Linked DNA regions of Homo sapiens: all the other regions are linked to region 2. Evidence: promoter capture Hi-C in 16 types of primary human blood cells and fetal thymus (Javierre and others, 2016). All regions are on one chromosome and are shown on one strand. The core of a region is centred on a gene start or on the middle of the fragment in contact, and the rest is flanking DNA. Distances in the headings are between cores, read along the strand shown. Region 1 overlaps AADACL2-AS1 (AADACL2 antisense RNA 1). Region 2 holds the start of P2RY14 (purinergic receptor P2Y14). Region 3 overlaps AADACL2-AS1 (AADACL2 antisense RNA 1).

The links. The method cuts DNA at HindIII sites, captures the fragments that hold promoters and counts their contacts. A CHiCAGO score of 5 or more calls a contact.
Region 1: a fragment that was not itself captured here is called in contact with the fragment with the promoter of P2RY14 in region 2 in 1 of 17 cell types (monocytes); the score reaches 5.7 in monocytes.
Region 3: a fragment that was not itself captured here is called in contact with the fragment with the promoter of P2RY14 in region 2 in 1 of 17 cell types (monocytes); the score reaches 5.2 in monocytes.

The regions. Positions count from the first base shown.
Region 1 is chr3:151,918,771-151,923,161 of GRCh38, forward strand. All of the region lies in intron 1 of AADACL2-AS1 (AADACL2 antisense RNA 1), which reads right to left. Among named protein-coding and RNA genes, the nearest start is that of AADACL2-AS1, 7.2 kb to the right of the region's middle. The HindIII fragment of the contact is 3,389 bases long and covers 122-3,510 here.
Region 2 is chr3:151,276,701-151,281,041 of GRCh38, forward strand. It overlaps P2RY14 (purinergic receptor P2Y14), which reads right to left and starts at 1,842. Exons shown (of 3, transcript NM_014879.4): 1 at 1,587-1,842. The region is part of intron 16 of MED12L (mediator complex subunit 12L); the gene reads left to right. The HindIII fragment of the contact is 3,614 bases long and covers 1-2,486 here.
Region 3 is chr3:151,852,536-151,857,370 of GRCh38, forward strand. All of the region lies in intron 1 of AADACL2-AS1 (AADACL2 antisense RNA 1), which reads right to left. Among named protein-coding and RNA genes, the nearest start is that of SUCNR1, 19 kb to the right of the region's middle. The HindIII fragment of the contact is 7,050 bases long and covers 1-4,835 here.

The DNA of each region.
Region 1 (4,391 bases), core at 566-3,065, 640 kb after region 2:
TCTAAATTAAGCAGCTGAAAATTATATAAATATTCAGAGAATGTAAGCTTCAACATCTTTGTAAGTGCTGTTTCTCTGCTTCCCTTTCTACCTCACAGGAGAACACCTGAGTAGAGCAGAAAGCTTGCTGGGCCAGCCCTGCCTGCTGGCTCTTTGCTAGACTGGGTGGGTGGCCCACCGTGTTGCTGCCTTGGCCCCTCCTTGTCGCTTTCGGATGCTGCCAACCCCTTGTGATATGGTTTGGCTGTGTCTCCACCCAAATCTCACCTTGACTTGTAATAAACTCCACGTGTCAAAGGTGGGGCCAGATGGAGATAATTGAATCATGAGGGCAGTTTCACCCATACTGTTCTTGTGGTAATGAATAAGTCTCACGAAATCTGATGGTTTTATAAATGGGAGATCCCCTGCATAAGCTCTTTTACCTGCCACTATGTAAGGCATGCCTTTGCTTCTCCTTTGCCTTCCACCATGATTGTGAGGCTCCCCAGCTATGCTGAACTGTCAGTCCATTGAAGCTCTTTCCTTTATAAATTACCCAGTCTAAGGTATGTCTTTATTAGCAGTGTGAGAACAAACTAATACACCTTGAGTCTCAGTCATGCTCTCCTCCACCAGCCCATAGTTTAAGAGATTACTTGCAGTTTCTGCTCTTGGCACATTTACTCCTCACCATTGTGGGCCATTCCAGGCCTGCTGGTTCTTGGCTCTCATCAGCCTTCTTCAGCACCCCCAGGGAAGCACAAAAACATGTCTATATATGTTCACACCAAAAGACAGCCCATGTTGGTGCAAGGTTTCTATCCTGAGCTTTCCTTTTGCTGAAACCTCCTACTGTTCACATGTTCGCTGATCAGAGTCCCCTGGAAGTCTTGTCAACACACGTTTCTGGGCCTATACCCAGAGTTTCTGATTCAGTAGCTCTGGGTGAGTTCCAATGACTTGATGTTCTAGCAGGTTCCCAGATGACGATGCTACTGGTTCTGGGACCACTTTTTAAGAACCACTGGCCTAAACCAGTACTTCCTCCAATTGTTCACATAGAGTTACATGTAAAATATAATAAAATAGCTCATATTTTTGGACCACAGTTGACCATGAGTAACTGAAACAACAAAAAGTGAAACAAGGAATAAGTGGGGACTACTGTAGATGGTTCAAATTTTTCTAATGTGTAGAAAAAAACATAGAGTAACGAGTTTCTCTTTCATAGACAACTATGGGCACATTTTTGAGCGCACATAAGTTTGTTCAAACAAGTTGGGTAAATACCTAGGAATGTGATTGCTGATTGTAGAGTAAGAAAATATATATGTGTTTTGTATATACATATAACACATCTTTCTCCATGTTTTTGTCTTCTTTATTTTATTTGTTGATATTTTGTCATTTCCTACACACATTTTCTATACATATTATATTAGATTTATATCTGTGTAGTTGAGCTACTGTAAATGGTATGGACTCTTTTTCTAATTTTAATGTTTAGTTGTTTATTGCTGGTATATAAGAAATCAATTGACTTTCAACCTTCTATCCTGTGACCCTTTTATATACACTTATCAATTACAGGAATTTATTGTCATTTCATTGGTATTTTAAAATAGAAAATTATATCATTTGTGAATATAGACAGTTTTATCTCTTTCCTTCTGATTGGTGTCCTTATAAGAAGAGGAAATTCAAACACACAGAGATACTAAGGATGCACACAGACAGAGGAAAAAATCACGTGAGGACACAGCAAGAAGGTGGCCATCTGCGAGTCATGGCGACAAGCCTAAGAAGAAGAAAAACCTGAAGGCACCTTGAGCCTGGACTTCTAACCTCCAGAGCGAAATAAAATTCCCTTGTTTAAACTACCCAGCCTATGGTACTATGTTATGGCAGCCCTAGCTAACAAATATAGAACCCTTAACATATTTATCATAGGTATTTTAAATTTTCTGTCTGAAATTCGAACATCTGTGTTACATTTGAGTCTGGGTCTTATGATTGCTTTGTCTCTTCAGACTGTGTATGTGTGAGTGTGTATATGTGCGCACATGCGTACACGCATGTTTTGCCTTTTTGTACATCTTGTAGTTTTTGCTGAAAGCCAAACATGTTGCATTGGGTAATTATTTTGCTGAAAGCCAAACATGTTGCATTGGGTAATTATAACTGAGATAAACTGTCCTTTACTGTCAGGATTTACATTAATCTGGCTGGAATCTAGGCTGTGTTTAATCTCAGCTGTAGCTGTGGGTGCCAGAGGCTTCATGTTCTTCTAGTCTCCTTGCTTTTGTCTTCTTTCTTGACTTTAGGATTCCCTAAGTACTCCTCCTCACAGAGAGTCTGCATCTTGCAGCTCTTTCCGATGTAATCCAGTGTTACTATATTGCAGTCCTGCTGGTGTGGTGGTAAAGTGTCAGTGAGGGGATGCCTTCTATATACTTAGGATGAAAACGCACACTTTTAGTCAGCCTGTGTCTGTGGGCTGTGACTTTCATAAGCATTTCTCCGGTTGTATAGTTTTTGTACCCTCTTAGTTGGGGCAGAAACACTAGAGGGAACTAAAGTGGGAGGAATGCTTTTTTCCAGCTTGGATAAGGCTCAGGTAAAGTCCTTTTATCTGCAGCGTAGTCCATTATGGAGGAGGCTGTGGGTATATTTTACATTGACTAGTTTTTCTTTCCCCTGCTAGTGCCACAAGGGAAACTTTCATGAATATTTACCATGAGAACCTGGAGGGGTTCCCAGAGGTAAAAACCCATAAAATTGTTGAAGCCTCTCTAAGATTGGGACCTCTAGGAGTTTTTTGCTCTCAAATAATCCATACTCAACCTCTAGGAATTTGTTAAAATTAATATTTTAGTTTTTCTGCCAGCTTATGGTGCTAATGGCTTCTGCTCCAGATAAGTTGCTCCACTGTGACTGTCTGGATTCACGTATGTATTCTTTTTCTACTGACCACTATAGCAAATTACTACAAACTTGGTGTCTTAAAACAACACAAATATATTATCTTAAAATTCTAGAAGTCAGAAGTCTGAAATCGTTTACATCAAGCTAAAATCAATTAGTCAGCAGGGCTATGTTCCTTCTGGATGCTCTAAGGGAGAATTCATTTTCTTGCGTTTTCCATGCATTAATATAAGGCCAAGCACTTTTCAAACTGGTATCACAATAGTTCTCTTCTGCTACCCCTTCCAAATTTGAAGACCATTATAATTATATTGGGTCCAACTAATATTGCAGGATAATCTCCCTGTTTAAATATCAGTTGATTAGCAACCATAATTCCATCTACTACTTTAATTCCTCTTTTCTTTGTCATATAGCATATTCATAGAATCCAAGGATTACGACTTGGATTTCTCTTCAGCCATTATTTTGCCTATCACTGCCTGTCCAGATTTCAGTGGCAGGTTGCTCTGAAACCTTAGTTCTTTGATAGATCTAAGAACAGTTGTTGATTCTTAGTTTCTTCAGCTTTTTGTTATTTAAGGATAGGAGTGATGACTTCTAAGCTTTTTTTTGAGACGGAGTCTCGCTCTGTCACCCAGGCTGGAGGACAGTGGCATGATCTCGGCTCACTGCAACCGCCACCTCTCAGGTTCAAGCAATTCTCCTGCCTCAGCCTCCTGATAGCTGGGACTACAGGTGTGTGCCACCACACCTGACTAATTTTTGTATTTTTATTAGAGATGGGGTTTCACCATGTTGGCCAGGCTGGTCTTGAACTCCTGACCTCAGGGGATCTGCCCACCTTGGCCTCCCGAAGTGCTAGGATTACAGGCATGAGCCACCACGTCCGGTCGACTTCTAAGTTTTTTAGATGGTGGGGCTAACACTAGAAGTAGTAAGCACTTTTTCATACTAAATCCAGAGTTCTTAAATAGCAGTAACTGAATCTCTCACCTTTTTGTCTCTGGCATTTATTAGATGGACAAGTTTTGAGTGAGAGGATGTGGAAGGAAGGTAATCTCTCCATTAAAAACACTTTGCTTTAGATTTGAATAACTTAGAGCAAAAGATGGAATATAATAGATTGACATTTCACAGAGGTGTCTAAGTAGTCCTTTGAAAATAAATGAGGACAATTACAGTAGATACAAAGAAGACTGTCACTGGATTATGATTTGAAAGCTGTGCCCTGTATCCGGTGAAGTTTCTCTTTAAAGAACATTTTGTGCTTCATCAAAACCAAACCAAATCTAGTCAATCCTATTTCAATTAATTTGGTTAGCCATGAATTTTTTTTTTAAATAACACCTAGAACACATTATTCCAGGGCTACTAAAATATACATGTACATCACTTAAACTACTTTCTTTCCATCATCAAAGAGTATGCTTAAATACAACTCCAAAGCCAAGGGTTTAATCCTAATCTTTTAGAAATTTTTT
Region 2 (4,341 bases), core at 592-3,091:
TTCTGTTCAGCACTTTAGAAGCATCATAGGTGGCCTTGCTCAGGATAGTCACACCCTCTGTACCTGCTTCAACTGTGAAGTGGGCACCGTAATACTTCAGGAAATTATACTTCTTCCTCTGCACCCGGCCCACTTCCCCTGTGTCTTCATGCTTTGAGTACCTTGGAATCTCCCCACTGTTCTTTTGGTTTTATTTTTGTTTGTTTTTGTTTTTGAGACAGGGTCTCACTCTCTCGCCCAGACTGGAGTGCAGTGGCCCGATCTCAGCTCACCACAACCTCTGGCTCCCAGACTCAAGCGATTCTCCTGCCTCAGCCTCCTGAGTACCTGGGATTACAGGCATGCACCACTACCACCCAGCTAATTTTTGTATTTTTAGTGGAGATAGGGGTTTTACCACGTTGGCCAGGCTGGTCTTGAACTCCTGACCAGCCTCTCCTGAGGCCACTCACCTTGGCCTCACAAAGTGCTGGGATTACAGGTGTGAGCCACCATGCCTGGCCTCCTTGTTTTTTTTTTTTCCAGACATGACAATATAGAGTTCATTCATATATACCAATGTGTTAATTGTGTGCACACAATTGTATGCATGTTTGTATATATAGTATTCATAAATTTTACCGAAATATAAAATTCATTGCATGTTTACAAATCATAAAATATGCCATTTTGGTATTTTCCGAGTGCATTGTTTTCTTTTTAACTTAATGGCTAGGTTTTTTTTTAGTGCTAAAACTGATTATCAAGTTTGTATGTTTTAGAAAGATGAATATACAAACTATTTATTTTTTTACTAGTGTGATCTTTGATTCATTTTCTCCGTAGGATTGATTGTCCTTGGTTAACAAAGTATATGTAGACAAGATGGATTGCATGGGCTTGGTTGAATAAGCTGACATTGTGGGTCTGTGCTAATTCTCCTGAATGTAATTTAATTTATAATGTTTAAAGAATTGTAAGTAATTTAGCTGATTAGTCATAGACTATAAATAAGTAGCATATGAACTCAAATATTTGCTATGCCTAGGACAGATATTTCTGTGATTTACAATTTAAAGGCATTTTATTTTAGTAGGTGTTAATGGGGTTAACTTATCCTAATAATGACAAAGATAAAAACTTTTACCTATATAAGTGTATGTACAAGTAAATGCAACTATATATCTGTACACATATGCAATTGCAAACAAAGACATACTGACCTAAGTATTATGCTAATCGATTTTGTAGTTTTGAGAAGCAATTTTAATACACATTTACGAGCTTTTGAAATGTTTGTCCTGGATGAATACCTTTTAAACATTTTCCTTGATATCTCTTCATCACAGATATATTTTGACAGCCACGATTGGAAATCCTAAATCATAAATGATAATATTTCAGTATTGGATCCCCATATTAGCATGGGGAAATATATTAATATACCAATTATAGTTGTCAAACAAAAAGTAACCTACTGAGAAAAATGTGAGTGGCAATGGTTCAGTGTTCCTCAGCTTTGTTGCTGCCCAGCTCAGAAATCTTTTCTGTTCCCATGCACCATTCACATACATGCAAGTCATTTCATGGAAAAGCTGTTTTCTTACCTGCGTCTAGGCCTTCATCTGTGAGAGTCATGCTTCACTCATTTTGAAATACCTCTCATTGTAGGCTCCAAGGTAACACTGTTACAGAGTTCTTGCTCATCTTCAACTACGGATGAAAATCAGGAACTTGACAGAAACCACAAGATAGTGGGTCCCTCTGCTGCTGTTGTCAGATAGAATTTATTGAAGACTGGGACGTGGAAACAAAGAGGAAGGAAGAGACGTTTTAATCTCTGTGGGTGTTAGGCTGACTTCTGAGCTAGTTCCTTTCCTCCAGTAATGCAAAAACAGTCCTGCTTTCTTATTTCTCCTCCTACTTTTCCCCACATCCCTACATCATCTGATGCACAGCCAGGCAAAAACCTGTTTTCTTTTCTAACCTTTGCCATTGTCAAATTCAACATGTGGTATGAGGTGGAGAACTGATGTGTAAGATATGGTTCTTTCTGAAGCACCCTCAGAAAATTGTCAGCAGCTTCACAGTATAACGTGCAGAGATGGGTAGTTGGAGCTACCTGGAAATGCGGAATTAACAGAATAAAGAAGTATTTTGACACCAATGTCGACATATTCTAGATAAGAGGTGTTGCATTGTCATTTTTCCCACATTAATTTTCCCATATTTGAACATTACTGATAAATAGATCACAAGTAGGACTTCAGATAAACTCCTCGTGTGTTAACATTTTGGTGTTTGTGCTGTGTTACTATTTTGAAAGTCTTCATATTTTTAGTTCCTTTCAGGCTCTGTAATATAATTGGTGATGTCCTGCAGTGCTCCACTGTCTTTCCCATTGACTATTAGTGCCATTAGATTTGGAAGTTTTCAGAAGATGGCTACAAAGTCCTCTTCAAAGTGTATAACTCAGAACCAGAAAGAAAGAAGACAAGGGGCTGAAAAGCTTACTTTATAAGGTTCCTGCATTTTAAGTGTATTTACTTAGGCTGTTCCATTGCCAAATTATGGGTAACAACTAGTAAAGTTCAGCTTGCCTTAAAAACATAGCTATACATTTAGTTATAATAATTATAACTGGCTTATGACATGCCCGTTACTATTCTAGTTGCTTTATATGTACTTGCTACGTAGGAGGCAGTGTTCTGGACATTGGAGATGGAGTAGTGACTGACACATACCCAAACAGTTATTTCCCTCATGAAGAGTATTTTCTTACTTTCTGTCTCACAGACTTGCTAGTCACTGTTGATCCTTGGCAAAGACCTGTGAGACACAGAGCTTGTTTAGAGAAGTTCGCCATTTCTCCCTGCCAGAGGGACTCTTCTTCAGACCCCCAGCGGGCCCCAATAGTCCTCACTGATGCTTTGATTGAGGGGCTAAGAATACTGATGTGCATAGAGAGGCTTGTTAGCTTCAGCTGCAGTGAGATCTGGTAGGTAAATAAACTTAAGGACAAGTGGATGTGAGGAGGAGCCGCTAGAGCCTGGTTATTACCAGGGCACATTGCAGAGTCCTCCAGATGTAAACATTTTGCTGATTAAATTGATGATTTGGCAGGAACCGTATCTCTAAGGTGCGACTCTCAAGACTTCCCTGATTTATTGCAGGAGATGCTGTTTACTCTGACAGTCTCAAAAACACCCATTAATTGTTCCGGGTCCCTTTTGTGCTTCTTGACTTCCCCGTGGGGTGTTTCACATAGATGTTATTGAGTATGACTGGGGAGAACATGATAATTTGTTGCTTCTTGACTTCCCCGTGGGGTGTTTCACATAGATGTTATTGAGTATGACTGGGGAGAACATGATAATTTCTTTGACTGGAGCTGCTTGCTTGCCTCTTAATGCCAGGAGTTGCAAAGTCCAAGGCCAAAAGGATAGCCCTACAGGTGGTCCCCTCGTGGCAGGTGGTACAAATGGGTTGGACTCTGTGTAAGACACTTGGGAGTAGAGGGAGTATGGAGAAATGGAAAGCTAAAGGGCCCACCCAGGGGGACAGTTGTGTCTGGAAGCTTGCCAGAGTCATGGGCCTCATCTTGGGATGGGCCAGTGTCTTCAGAACATTAAACGCTGATTTGCATGTACTGTTCTAAACACTCTGTGTGTTTTAGCTTGATTACTCACAATGGCTCCATGAGTAAAGTAGGTCTGTCTACTACTTCTTCCCCACCTTTTTCTTAATAGACAAGGAAACTGAGGCATGGAGATGTTACATCAGGTTGCTGGAGCTGGGCAGATCCTGGAGCCTGTGCACTGCTACTGCCTTTATATGTCTCCTCTGATTTCATTTGTTGGTGTCTAAATCGAATACCTTACAAACCAGTGTAGACCTGATACCCTGTGGGCTAAAACAAAACCTGAGTGTGCACTGTATTGGGCTTGTGAGCAGTCAGCTTGTGACCTCTGTTCTGTGGTTTTATTGGCACGTAGCAGTACAAGGATGGTGAGGGGTGGGTAGGGGGCAGACAGCTAGGCACTTGAAAGGAAAGCTCATCTGGAAAGATTGGATCGTCTCAAATGCACATACTCGTACACTCGATTGAAGCGTACTCTGTGCCTACTAGATCTTTTCACAGCCAAAACACCTGGCAACCCTTGGAGAAGTAACTATTCCTTTTTTTCACAAGTAAGAAAATAGAGCCTCAGAAAATTTAACAGTTGTCTAAGCTAGAAAGTAGCAGGACTGGACTTTGAAGTAGTCTTTAGGTTGTGCTGTACATTTTGTGGATATGCTTAAATCACAGTTTAGCTTGTACACATTTTCCTTTATTAGAATTGGAAGTAAGTATTAATGTTT
Region 3 (4,835 bases), core at 1,936-4,435, 580 kb after region 2:
GCCGCTGCACCACACTGCTCTTCCTTCCTCTTTGTGGGTTATGCCAGCGTCCTAGTCAGTTCTGATGACAGAGCCTGGATACCTCCGTTGCCAGTGCAGGATTCGCACACTGCTATGGTTCTTTTCGAAGGGAGCCTCCATCATCACTGCTTCTAGTCGGCCATCTTGGCCTCGCCCTTCCTTAAGATATTTTTCTACACTTTGTTATGAAAAGGTTTAAACTGTTTTCTAAGATTTTATTTCAGTTTTATGTATCTACCTTTATGTATCTACCTTCATAATATACCAGTGCTTATGTTTTTCTTTCAGTTATGCTCTAGTTAAGACTGAGAGCTAAGACCAGATGGTTTTTTCTCAATAAAGAAAACCAAGCAATACACCATGATTTTTATATTTTGGAGAAATACTTGTAACATAAAAGTTATTCATCTCTAGAAAGTTTAGAAAAATTCCATGCAGTTTATTTTTGAGGTTTCTTTTTTATTGTTCTTGTCACGTCCTCTCTTTGATGCTGTCATTTTTGCTATGTTGGGTTTTTTTAAAGTAGTTTTCCATTTCCAGTTGGAAATAAACTTTGTATTTCTTAAGTATAGTATTTTGCCTGTCTATTGTATAACCTTTTTCTACCTCTTATTTAATGACATATCATATCCTATCTTTTATTAATTAGGTGATTTTTGTCTAACCAGAGATTTAAATAACCTGATTTCATTAGCTTTCAAATTATGTTTACTTCTGCTCTTTATTTATTGCCTCTTTCTGGGTTCCTTTTTTGCTCTTTATTATAGATAGAAATACAGTGGCAGTGTTTACATTTCATCTGTTTTACAAATGGAAACACCTTGGTCAATACGCTACTCCTTAAGGAAGATTTGGTGAAAAGGCCTACCTTCTGTGTAAGGTTATGTTTTTATTTTTATTTTTTATCATTTCTTTTCCAACATTTAATATGACAATTTTCAAACACTCAGAAGAGAAATTGAAAGAATTTAATATAAATACTCATATACCCACCACCTAGATTCAGCAATAAACATTTTATTGCACCTGCTTCATCAACTCTCTATTTGTCTATCTATTCTATCAATCAGTCCATCTTTTTTTTTTTTTGAGACGGAGTCTTGCTCTGTCACCCAGTCTGGAGTGCAGCGGTGGGATCTTGGCTCACTGCAACCTCTGCCTCCTGGGTTCAAGCGATTTTCCTGCCTTAGCCTCCCAAGTAGCTGGGATTATAGGCACCCAGCACCACACCTGGCTAACTTTTGTATTTTTAGTAGAGACGGGGTTTCACCATGTTGGCCAGGCTGGTCTAGAACTCCTGACCTCAGGTGATCCACCCGCCTCAGCCTCCCAAAGTGCTGGGATTATAGGCATGAGCCCCATCTTATTTTTTATACATTGCAGACATCAGTACATTTAATCCCTAAACATTTTAGCATGCATTTTAGTAAACAGAGTACGGTATTTATTTTTGCTCCTGCTCTTTTTGAGGTAAATTTATATACAATGAAAGATAAAAATATCATATATATAAGTATATATCATATATAAATATATCTATGATATATATAAATATATCTATGATATATATAAATATATCTATTAAATATATATCATATATAAATGTATATATCATACACACACACACACACACACACACATATATATATATATATATATATATATATATATATATATATATATATATATAAAGGGGAATTTATAAAGTATTAACTCACACAATCACAAGGTCCCACAATAGGTCATCTGCAGGCTGAGGAGCAAGGAGGGCCAGTTTGAGTTCCAAAACTGAAGAACTTGGACTCCAATGTTCAAAGGCAGGAAACATCCAGCTCAGGAGAAAGATGTAGGCTGGGAGGCTAGGCCAGTCTCTCTTTTCACATTTTTCTGCCTGCTTATATTCTAGCCATGCTGGCAGCTGACTAGATTGTGCCCACCCAGATTAAGGCCGTGTCTGCATTTCCCAGCCCACTGATTCAAATGTTAATCTCCTTTGGCAACACCCTCACAGACACACCCAGGATCAATACTTTGTATCCTTGAATCCAGTCAGATTGACATTCAGTATTAAGCATCACACTTAGGCAACCCCAACCCTATCTCTATCAAGTTTCAGAAAATTACTATCATCACCTCCCAAAAAGTTTTCTGGTGCCTCTTTCCAGTAAATCCCAGTGCCATGGCCACAGATCCAGCCTTTGCTCAAATGATTCCACAATAAATTTGTGTTTCTAGTAGTTAGTAGTTAGAAATCTTTTAATTTGCCCAGGTTTTCATCACAAATCAAAGTGTTGTTTGATAAAATACTGTTAAATTTCAATAATAGGAGCAATGTTGTAGTAGTTTATAGTCTAAAGCATTTCAAATGTCGTAAACTATCTGATTTGATACTCCCCTACCCCCACCAAGCAAATTTATTTTACAGATGAAGACCTGATTACAGATGAACATCTGAGGCTGGTAGAGGTGGAAAAACACATTTGAGTGCAGTCAGAACCTAATCCCAGATTTGAAGATTCTGAAGCCAATGCTCTTTTCTGTTATTTCATATAGTGTAGTGTTCTAATTTTATTTTATTATGAAATGAGAATGCACAGATTGGCCATAAAATATAGAAACATAGATAAAGTTTCTTTTTTTTTTAACAAAATGAACCTACTTATTTTTCTCCATAATGTGCCAAAAAAGAAATTTTACTCAGTAAAAATGAGACACATGACGTGAGCCAGCACATCGCAGACACATGTGCAGGTTTGATGGAAATACCGTGTGGATGGACGGTCTTCACGGTGGTTTTGCACAGCACCTTGACCTATGCATTGCTAGTGAGGCATAACGCACAGGACATGTCACTAATGTTATGAAACATGTCATGCATTACAAGGTGATATCAATAATGTATATATATATTTGAATCTGTTTCTAAGTTTCACAGAAATTCTATAGCATTTACACCTCTGACTATTAAGATTATATTAAGAGCAACTTTCCTTGCCATAATATAAATAATGTTTATAAGTGATTTTTATGAATACAAAATGATTTTACTTTACACGTATCAGTTATTTTCCTGTGTCAACCCAAATAAACCTCTAGAGATGTCTACCAGTGGCTAAATTTTGTATCTTTTGTAGAGCCAGGGTTTCGCCATGTTGCTGGGGCTGGTCTCCAACTCCTGGCCTCAAGCAATCCGCCCACCTCTGCCTTCCAAAGTGCTGAGATTACAGGCAAGAGCCACTGTGCCTGGCAAAATTTGATTAATACTGATTTTAGTTTAAAACATGGTAGAAATGAAGTATATAAATGTCGACTTTGGCTTACAAGTAAATTTAATAAGCTACTTCTCATTCAGCATCTGATTGGAAGAGGTGATGCACCTTCCCCATAGATCTGTGATTATTTTACTTTACACAGAGCATTGGGCAAATATAAATTTCTCTGCAACTTCAAGAAATACCACTAGATGAGGATGAAGAAATTGCATCATATAAATCCCCAAGAGAAGGATAACAGAAATGGAGAAAAAGAGATCTACATGGTTTTGGAATATAGTAAGACTTGAGAAAGCTGAAACAGCACATGCCTATTAACGGCTAGAAAACATGGCCATAGAAAAACCAGATTGTCTTAGGAGTTTGATATGCAAGGTTTTTTGAAACTCAGTGGTATTCAGACAGTGGGTAAGCTACTTAGGAAAAATCAATCAATGCTGTTAACTGTTGGCTTGGTTCCAATATTTTGCCGAAATGGGCATATCTGATGCCATGGTATTTAAAAGCAAGCAGTGCAAGTAGCCTGGAGCTGTGGTGATTCAGCACATACATTCTCAGTTAATTTTCTGTTATCTGTCTTTCATGGGCCTGTTGTCACCAAGACCGGTGACCACTTATTTATTTTAATTTATCCTGAAAATTCATATCCAGTCTTCTGTAAATTTAATACCTTATGAATGTTTTCATCAAATCCCTCTGTCTTTACACCCCGCCCCCTCCACCTAACCATTGTTTCTGTGTGTGTCCGTGTCCTGATCACCTCTTCTTATAAATACTACAGTCACATTGGATTAGGGCATACCCTAGTGACCTCATTTTAACTTAGTTTTTTCTTTAAAGATTCGCTCTCCAAATGCAATCACATTCTGATGTACTGGGGATTAAGAATTCAGCATGTGAATTTGGTGGTGGTGGTGAATTCAGCCCCTAAAAGGAAGAAAAGATAATCAATTCACCAATGAAAGTAGGTGTATTTCCACACATAAAGGCCCTACTAAGTGCCCAGCACATTCAATAAAAAATACTTACCCTAAGGTATATTAACACCAAACTTAAAACCAGTAGGGGAAGAGAAACTAGATGCAAGGTGCAAAAATTATTGCTTGTAAAAGACCGAATGGCACTGAATTTTTTTAATTATTATTAGAGATGAGGGTCTTACTATGTTGCCCAGGCTGTTGTCTTTTTTGTTTTGTTTTTTGACACAGAGTCTCCCTCTGACTCAAACTCCTAGGCTCAAGTGATACTACTGCCTCCCAAGTAGCTGAGACTATAGGCATGGACCACTGCACCCAACATGGCATTGAACTTAGCAAAGGTTTGAGAGCTTAAATACAATGGAAGTTGCTTTTTAAAATTCTGAAGTAGAATCATTTTCAATCAAACATTTACCTTCTGAGGTACGTGTATATATATCTATATATGTGTGTGTATATATGTATATACACACACACACATTGGTAGTTAGTTACAATACATTGGTAGATACTGAATGGAGATCCAACAAAAATTGCAATCTAATTTTGTAGGGATGATGAAAGA